Regions from separate parts of the Homo sapiens genome. Here all the other regions are linked to region 1. Evidence: promoter capture Hi-C in 16 types of primary human blood cells and fetal thymus (Javierre and others, 2016). All regions are on one chromosome and are shown on one strand. The core of a region is centred on a gene start or on the middle of the fragment in contact, and the rest is flanking DNA. Distances in the headings are between cores, read along the strand shown.

The links. The method cuts DNA at HindIII sites, captures the fragments that hold promoters and counts their contacts. A CHiCAGO score of 5 or more calls a contact.
Region 2: a fragment that was not itself captured here is called in contact with the fragment with the promoter of WDHD1 in region 1 in 2 of 17 cell types (M1 macrophages and total B cells); the score reaches 7.1 in M1 macrophages.
Region 3: a fragment that was not itself captured here is called in contact with the fragment with the promoter of WDHD1 in region 1 in 1 of 17 cell types (activated CD4 T cells); the score reaches 5.1 in activated CD4 T cells.

Annotation. Positions count from the first base shown.
Region 1 is chr14:55,025,517-55,028,459 of GRCh38, reverse strand. WDHD1 (WD repeat and HMG-box DNA binding protein 1) reads left to right here and starts at 1,361. Exons shown (of 26, transcript NM_007086.4): 1 at 1,361-1,432; 2 at 1,657-1,749. The coding sequence starts at 1,673. It overlaps SOCS4 (suppressor of cytokine signaling 4), which reads right to left and starts at 1,224. Exons shown (of 3, transcript NM_199421.2): 1 at 989-1,224. RefSeq lists enhancers at 485-1,011, 1,012-1,539 and a silencer at 1,334-1,383. The HindIII fragment of the contact is 4,247 bases long and covers 1-2,943 here.
Region 2 is chr14:54,528,355-54,531,297 of GRCh38, reverse strand. CGRRF1 (cell growth regulator with ring finger domain 1) reads right to left here. Exons shown (of 6, transcript NM_006568.3): 3 at 1,072-1,249; 4 at 248-395. Among named protein-coding and RNA genes, the nearest start is that of CGRRF1, 20 kb to the right of the region's middle. The HindIII fragment of the contact is 169 bases long and covers 1,330-1,498 here.
Region 3 is chr14:55,433,712-55,436,654 of GRCh38, reverse strand. TBPL2 (TATA-box binding protein like 2) reads left to right here. Exons shown (of 7, transcript NM_199047.3): 2 at 1-94; 3 at 721-808; 4 at 2,934-2,943. It also overlaps a transcript of FBXO34 not described here. Among named protein-coding and RNA genes, the nearest start is that of TBPL2, 5.4 kb to the left of the region's middle. The HindIII fragment of the contact is 1,007 bases long and covers 929-1,935 here.

The DNA of each region.
Region 1 (2,943 bases), core at 112-2,611:
AAGCCAGTCTATCCAAAAAACAAATGATCTCCAAAAAAAAAAAATTAGGTCACTCAGAAAGCATCATCTCTGGTACCACTGCTCTTTCGGGAGATCAACAGTGGGTTATTTTTCCACAAATCCCAAGTTGTTTTTAAGCCAATCATTCTTCCTCTTCATTCATATACAAACCTCAGCGTCTAGCAAGGCTATCTGGAGCTCTAGTACTAAAAACAACGCCTCACACAATGCCACCCACGGTAAGAACACGACGGTTTGCCTGTGTGTTTGCAACTTTTCACAATGGAACTAGATTGAAAAAAACAATAGGGAAACCTCTTCAACAGAAAAACGTCTCAGGTAATAAAATAAATGTGATTGATACTGGAAGGTATCACAAAAACGCAGAAAAATTCTCAAAGATAAGTACAAATGAAAGAATATCATTCTGAAGGTTTTCATCACAGGCTGCTGTACCAATATGGAGAATGAAGATACAAGAAAAGCATAAACTTAAACTTAGTGGCCAAGACTTTAGCAGATATTGCATGGATCAAATGTAAGTGCTCAAGGCTACTAAGTTATAACTCTTCTTTTGGTTATAAATATTCACTTCAGTAAACTTTAGGTGGGATCTGAATAGAGAACACAAGTTACTTTCTTCATAACGGATATATAGAGTCGCAAAGAATAAGCATTAATTGAGCATTAATTAATTATACCTTCAGGTACCAAGAGAACCAACCGGAACAGAAATTAAGTCATTCCTTCTTTATCTCTACAGAAGCGACAAGGTGAGGGCACGAAGGATGCCAAGATTAGAGGCTCTAGAAGATCTCGCCTTCTTTTCCAGAGAAGATGCTCAAAGATCTGTCTGCTAACTGGGCCCCAAGAAAGAGACCGGATCCTTTTAGGGATCCGGATATTGTTTCCTGGGAGGAGAGCCTGGAGGGCAGGAACAAGACCCCGGCCTGCGAGGCCAGGCAGCGGCCACCCTTCCCCCACTCACCTCCCGGAGCGCAGCTTAACTGGGGTTGTGCGAGTAACTGCTGCCATCACCATCGCCATCAGTCTGGGCGCTTGCTTAAGTGGAGAGGGGAGGCCCAACCACTCCTGCACCTCGTGTAGGTCTTACAAAGCAGATGCTTTTCTGCCACCCCCAACCCCGCTTCGGCGTTCCGGTCCCAACCCAGCCGTCACGGTCATCGCCTCCGCCGGTTCCCTGGGCGCCGCCACCACTTCCGTGTTCAGCTCCCTCCCTTCCTCCCTGATTTGCCCGGGCAACCGGCTAATTTCCACGCGGAGGGCGCCGCAGCTGACGCCACCACCCGGCGACCTCTGTCGGGACCTGCGCTGGGCGTGGGCGGGTCGGCGCAGGCGCAGTGTGGTGAGCGAGCCGAAGCGCGGGAAGCAGCTCTTGTGGATCCTCAGTGGCGGAGGCTCGGTCACCCGGGTGAGTCCCCACTCCGGCTGCCCGCGTCCACCAAGGAGATGCGTGTTCCCTTTCCGGCTTATTGTCTGACAGACCCTCTGCCTTATCCCGCTGGTGTCACTCGGGTGGGGGAAACCGGGCTGCGGAGAACGGGCCCTAGAGGAGACTAAGCTCTCTTCCTATCCCTAGCCTCGCTGCTTTTCTCTTTTGAAATAATAAGACTGGCTTTTATAAAACATTTTCAGATAGGTAAAGGAAAACATGCCTGCCACACGGAAGCCAATGAGATATGGGCATACAGAGGGACACACGGAGGTCTGTTTTGATGATTCTGGGAGGTAAGGTTCTTTGAGAAACAACGTTTTAGGTGCAAATGTTAAAACATTTATCCTTAAACTTTATATGTGCAGTCAGCTAAAAATGACTCATGCGGATAGAGGAATAATGTTGAAATCTAAAATGGCACACATATTTCTTTAGATTATTGTTTGATTCGGGCCGTCATGGTAGTTGTAGTATATCGACAAAGTTATAATCGTACTTCCAGAGGAGTTGGAAAGATGCGAGCTTCTCTCCATATATTTTCCCCTTCCCTGCATCTTACATTATTAATTTTGTCAGATCACTAGTTACTGCCTACTTGTCAAATTCAGTGGCCTGTTCTGTTTGGAATGATATCCTTCCATGCCTTTAGTGATGCTATTTCCCTTTTTGCTTATTTTTTTTTAACTTTTTGACGGCTTAAAACAATTTTTTCCTCTGATTCCTAAACTATAATATTTTCCTACGGTTATTCTGGTCCCTTTTATCTTTCCAAGTCCCATTCTTACGCACTACTGCTCGATTGCACGGCTTCCACTGTCGCTTCTATGTTGATTGATTCATTGAAAAAATACTTGTGTGTCTCTTTTGCTGGGGACTACAGATAGAATAGAGCGAACCAGACACAGTCTTTTCCTCCTTTGAGCTTAAGGTCTTTTTGGATTGACAGGCATTGAACACAAATTAATCACAAAAATAAATGTGTATTTAGAAACAAGTAATATGTGCAGTGATAAACATGTATGAGGAGAAGCTCATCTAGTTAAAGGAGTCAGGGAAGGCTTCTTTGGACAAGTGTTTCTTGAGACGCCATCTGAAGACGGAGCAGGCATTAAGCAGTATAAAGAGATGAGTGGTGGTGGCGGTGGGGTGGTGATGTTGGCATAGTAAGCAGAGGCAATACTGTGTGTAAAGGCCCAATGGGGCCAGGGATCATGGTATGCTCAAAGAACTGAAGGAAAACTAGCCTTACTAAAATGTGGAGAGTGATGCAGAGTTTAGTGAGAGATGAATCTGTGAAGTTAGGCAATGGATGTCCTATCCAAGACCTTCTGGACTTTATTAAGGAATCTCGTTTTATCCTAAAAGCACTGAGAAGGTATTAAAGGCTTGAAGCAGAGAGATGTGATCAGGTTTGTTTTTGAGAAAATGCATGGAGGATGAATTGGAAAAGGAGCACTCATGGATGCAGAAAGACTGTTAGAAGATAC
Region 2 (2,943 bases), core at 165-2,664, 500 kb after region 1:
CTTAATTCAACCATTATATATCTTTTATTTTCCAAATAAAGTCATATTACTGTGACCCATAAGGCAAGAAATGAGTCATAATCTGAAGGTACTGTTTCACATATAAAAACCAAATAGGTATATAGTTGTTGTAGGCCAAATGCACATCCTCAGAAATTAAAATAAAACTTTTTCTATTTATCAAATAATGAAGAACCACCATTCAAATCACTTAAAGGTAATGCTTTCAAAATTTTCAATTACTTACAATATCATAAATTTCCCGGTCATCCTCATCAGCTAAGGTCAATAGCGCTACCAATGGATAGCGAGATCTGGGTACTGTACCAAAGTCTTCAATTTTAGTATCTCTTGGTAACTGGCAATATATTTCTTCTTTGCTATCCTTTTTAATACTTTTTGAAAATGTAAAGGTAAATTGCCACTATAACCATAAGAACAAAAATACACCAAAAATGATCAATAAGTTAGCAACACTTTATCCATAAGAAGTCTAATTTTCAGTGCTAATGGGTATATCAGATAAAAGGATACAAATACTGTTCCTGATAGAGACATTCACTCCACAGAGCATCTTCTAATGCTTGAGGAGTGCTTATTCTGAAGCAATAAACATGCTTCTAGTATACCAAAAATGATCAATAAGTTAGCAACACTTTATCCGTAAGAAGTCTAATTTTCAGTGCTAATGGGTATATCAGATGAAAGGATACAAATACTGTTCCTGATAGAGATATTCACTCCACAGAGCATCTTCTAATGCTTGGGGAGTGCTTATTCTGAAGCAATAAACATGCTTCTAGTATACCAAAAATGATCAATAAGTTAGCAACACTTTATCCATAAGAAGTCTAATTTTCAGTGCTAATGGGTATATCAGATGAAAGGATACAAATACTGTTCCTGATAGAGATATTCACTCCACAGAGCATCTTCTAATGCTTGAGGAGTGCTTATTCTGAAGCAATAAACATGCTTCTAGTATACCAAGAATGATCAATAAGTTAGCAACACTTTATCCATAAGAAGTCTAATTTTCAGTGCTAATGGGTATATCAGACGAAAGGATACAAATACTGTTCCTGATAGAGATATTCACTATACAGAGCATCTTCTAATGCTTGGGGAGTGCTTATTCTGAAGCAATAAACATGCTTCTGCAGAGCTTCATATAATTTTTGAACACTGCACCCCCAGTAGCATGTAAGGAGGCTATCTTCAAGGCAATCTGTTGTCAAGGTTATGCCAGCTGTAAAAAACAAAGGAGAAAGAATGAAAGTGATTTAATGTAACTTCTAATACAATCATACAGGGTGAGTAACAAAAGCTTCCTTTTGGATGCTGGCCAGGATGATGGCAGTTAAAAGAACTTGTTAAAGGGTATGCCTCCTATAAACGAAGGAACTGGCCTCTGTAACAAGAGATATAAAAGCTCAATGTCTACACATTTTTTGAGAGCTATCAAAAAACTATTTCTTACTATTTATCTATTAAAGCTTAGAAACTGTTAATTTTCTTTTTTGGCGACTCTAAGACATTTCCCATCTAGATTTTTAAAACTAAAATACAGTTCACTATTGATAACCTACCACTCTCATAGTGTATATGATCCTAACGACAAGAAACAGTGCAGCAGAATACAGCTGTCCTCTAAAGGGGATATGTACAACCTATAGGCTCCACAACATGATCGCTGTTGTAAGAAAAATATTAAAAAGAAACTGAGCTTTACTAACATTAATGTATACATTGACAACATTAACATACAGGCTTGTCACAGACTTAATGTCCCATGTAATATGCAAAATATCCTGAGGAAAAGAGTGGGGATTCCAAAACATAAAGAGTTTAATAGTGGTATCTTAATTCAGTTGTTCACTTTCAACTTAAGAAGATATAACAATTTGAGTAGACCTGATTAAATGGATATACAAATTGTAAGTAGATGTGAAATTATACAGTTTTATTTAACACTTGTATAGGACTTACTTTGTGTCACCTATGTGATTTCCCCCTCCTAGTGGTATTTGTAGCAATATCACATTCAAGGGTAGCAACATCCAGCCTTTCATACTGCTGGGGGTGCAAACTGTAGCAGCGCAAACTGTAACGTGTAGTACTCCTTGGCACTGATACACTGACTAGATAAAAAGGGCCTGGTTTTGGTCATTGTTCCTGGCTCAACAGCCTTGGCATCTGATTTTGGCTCTCCAAACCTGCCAGCAATTCTGTAAGCTACCCAATATCCTTTTATTGAAGTTGTTTCTGTTGCTTGCTAATAAGAATTCTGATTGATATATTACCTATTTTTTAAAATGTGATCAAGAGTATATGTTAGAAGAAGATACACAAATACAAGCAGATGCTCCACAGGATACCAAAAACTGATTTTTCCAATTTTACTCTCAGTATTTAGTAGTATGTACACACAGTCTGAGAGTCTGAGTAGCATTGATACATGGCCATTTCTAATCATACTTAAGGAAAAATTTTAATTGGTAGGAACTTTGCATAGGTTAATTGGAGCAGGCTTTGATTTCAAATTTTTATGATTCCAATCATCAGGTATTAACTCAAGAATGAAAAATTCCATTTGATATTAAATAGCTGAAGGAAAACATTTTATTTATACATACACAAATACATATACACACATATACACACACATACAAAATCACACATATTTTTCCCTTTGTCACTGTAGAACCACATAACATGAGGCAGAAGAAAAAAGCTGGAGGTAGATACGAAAGGAAAAAATAGAAAATGCATATTTTAAAACATTGAAAAAGAAAAAACAAGAAACACAAAATGATTATTTATTATTGTATTACTAGCAAAAATGTGAAAAGATATATGTATAAGGCTACTCATTATAGCACTAGTTATCATAGCAAAATGCTGGAATAAACCCAAATGTTCATCAATGCGGATTAAATGAAT
Region 3 (2,943 bases), core at 183-2,682, 410 kb before region 1:
AACCAAACTCCGACTCCTTGTCTCTGGCATCCATAACTCCCATGACACCAATGACCCCTATTTCAGAATGTTGTGGAATTGTACCTCAACTACAGTAAGTTTTTATTTTTGTTTTAATTGAGCACATTGGGTACACATTTTATATTCCTGAATGCGATGACAACTAATTTCAGGATAATAGTAGGGAAGAGAATTTCAGATTTCATAATTCTTTGTTTTATCAGTTCTAAATGGATTGTGGCTTTAGACAGTTTGATTATCTGTAAGGCAAAGCACTAATTCTTGACCTCTAAGGTGGGCGGAGGGGACTTAAAGATTAATAGATGCATTCTTGAAGGATTGTATTGTTTATACTACAGCACTGTAGTTGCTGAAAATTGTGGGTAGGGTTGGATAAACACCAAGGATATAAAGATGTAAAATTGAGTTTGATTTGCAAATTGATTCAGAATTGTAATTTCTATTTTGAGGCATTGTTTTGAAAAAAGATCTAAAACTTAATTTTAGCAGCTAGTCATGAAATTTTAGGAAAGGCTCTTTAGCACTTCACTTTGGGATTTTACACTTAACTAGGAATCATGTCATGTATTTCACATTTGGAATAATTCTCCCCCTAGGAAATTGCTAAGGTATAACCTAAGAAATGAGAAAATAAGTTGTCTTTTTTTTTTTTTACTCTTTATATCTGATATAAGTTTCTAAACTGACTTATTTCTTCAGGAATATAGTTTCCACTGTAAACCTGGCCTGTAAGTTGGATCTGAAGAAAATAGCTTTGCATGCAAAAAATGCAGAATATAACCCAAAGGTAACATTTCTCAGTATTCCTTCCAATAATTAGCTTCTCTTTAGATTTACTTTTCTTAATATGATCATGATATTGACTAATTCCTCTGTTTTTTCTTAAAAAATTGTTACTGAAAAAGCTTTTGGCAACTCAGGGTTAATATCTGTTTTGAGTTATAAAAAATAATCTCATTCTTTATGCTGAATAAAGCAGTAATTGAGCAGTTCCTTAAAGATAAGCTCTCTCCCTTGTCATTCAAAAATATTTTTTAGTATGATTATAATTTTTCACTTAGGCTGGGCACGGTGGCTCACTCCTGTAATCCCAGCACTTTGGGAGGCTGAGGCAGGTGGATCACGAGGTCAGGAGTTTGAGACCAGCCTGACCAACATGGTGAAATCCCGTCTCTACTAAAAATACAAAAATTAGCTGGATGTTGTGGCGGGTGCCTGTAATCCCAGCTACTCAGGAGGTTGAGGCAGGAGAATCACTTGAACCCAGGAGGCAGAGGTTGCAGTGAGCCAAGATCATGCCATTACATTCCAGCCTGGGTAACAGCGAGACTCCGTCTCCAAAAAAAAAAAAAAAATTTCACCTGACTATTGGGATGCTAACTATCTTAAAATGCCATCAAATTTCTGGAAATAATTTTTGCCAAATGTTGTCTCAGCTACCTGACACTTATGTATCTTTCCATTACAATTCCTCTTATCTGAGAAGGCTAAACTGCTTAAAGTATAAAGTTCAAGCTCCTATTTACTAATGTAAGATTCAGGGATTTTTTTTTTCGTCCTCCTCAAAGTTTAATAAAATCTATTCTTTCTTGTATCCTGCCAAGGCCAGGCATCCTGTTTTCAATGGCTTGTTTACCTAGGGTAATTGGGTTTGTCAATCCTATCAACTTTTAACGATTTGCCAGGCTCTGTACTTAGGAGTACAAAGATGAGTAAGACCTGCTTCCTACTGGGAAAAAGTTCACTGGCTTAGGTGGTGGAGGATTTATGGAATTAGATGAAAAAAGGTCACATTCGTAGGAACCCAGAGACCTTGCAGGCATCAACTATTATTTGTTTTTGCTGTTGCCCTAGTATTGTTGCTGACATCTGAATTTAAATGTTACCTCGATGTTACCCGAATACAATAAAGCTTTCCTTTTGATATTTCATACAGCTGACAATGGTGAGGACAGACACAAAGATGAGCTAAGATCCTCACAGCTGCAGCTGTGATCACATTATTGAACAATCAGCATTTTAGGCAACTTTTATTGTCCACCATCCTCAGCACACCTCTCATTTTGGACGAGGGGTAGGGGTGGGCAGGGCTGGGGATGAGTGTATAGGATCTCTCTGAACTTGTGCTTGACACCCAGAGAAATTCTGGCTTGGCCCTTAAGCTAGCACCCACCCCAGTTTCCTTCCTAGCTTAACCGGGGAGAGGAGTTGGGGTGAAGAGACTATCTGTGTAGGAGCAGGCCATTTGATGACACGTCCATGTGGCAGGCCAGAGGTTCCCTACCCTCACGAGTGTCAGCCTCACCTGCAGGGCTTGCTGATGCTGCTGGTCTTGAATGACACTTTGAGAACTATAAGAGGCAAGAACCTTGACATCAACTTTCTGTCATTCATCTTTAGCATGCCTATCATACAGACTCTTCTGCATTTTGGTCATTTTTCAGTACATTCTGAAGTCTTGGTGAGCCTTTAACATACTTATTTTTTTCCCAAAAGATTCTTCAAAAGAAAAAGGAAGTGTGTCAAAGTAAAAAGCAGAGAATCTGATTAGTGTGGGTTTTGAATCTTAACTTTACCACTTCCTGTGTAATATTGGAGGTTATATTGCTACTTGTTTTCCCTGAGCACTAAATGAGGATAATAAACACAAGTTCATCCTATCATGAGAATAAATAGGAACTGAAACATAACAGGCATTCAAATTTAAGAGTTACTGATATTATTTTTACCTGTTAATAAGTACATTTTAGAATCATCATTATTTTTGTTAACCTTAATGTAGGGAGAAAAGACCCAGACATTTAGTTTTCCCATCCAATCTGTTTGAGATTTTCATATTCAGCTCGGCTTTTTCAACTGGGATAATGTTAACTCCTAGCAGAGGCTAATTCTCTTTTGGTTTCTGGGTATAGAGGTTTGCTG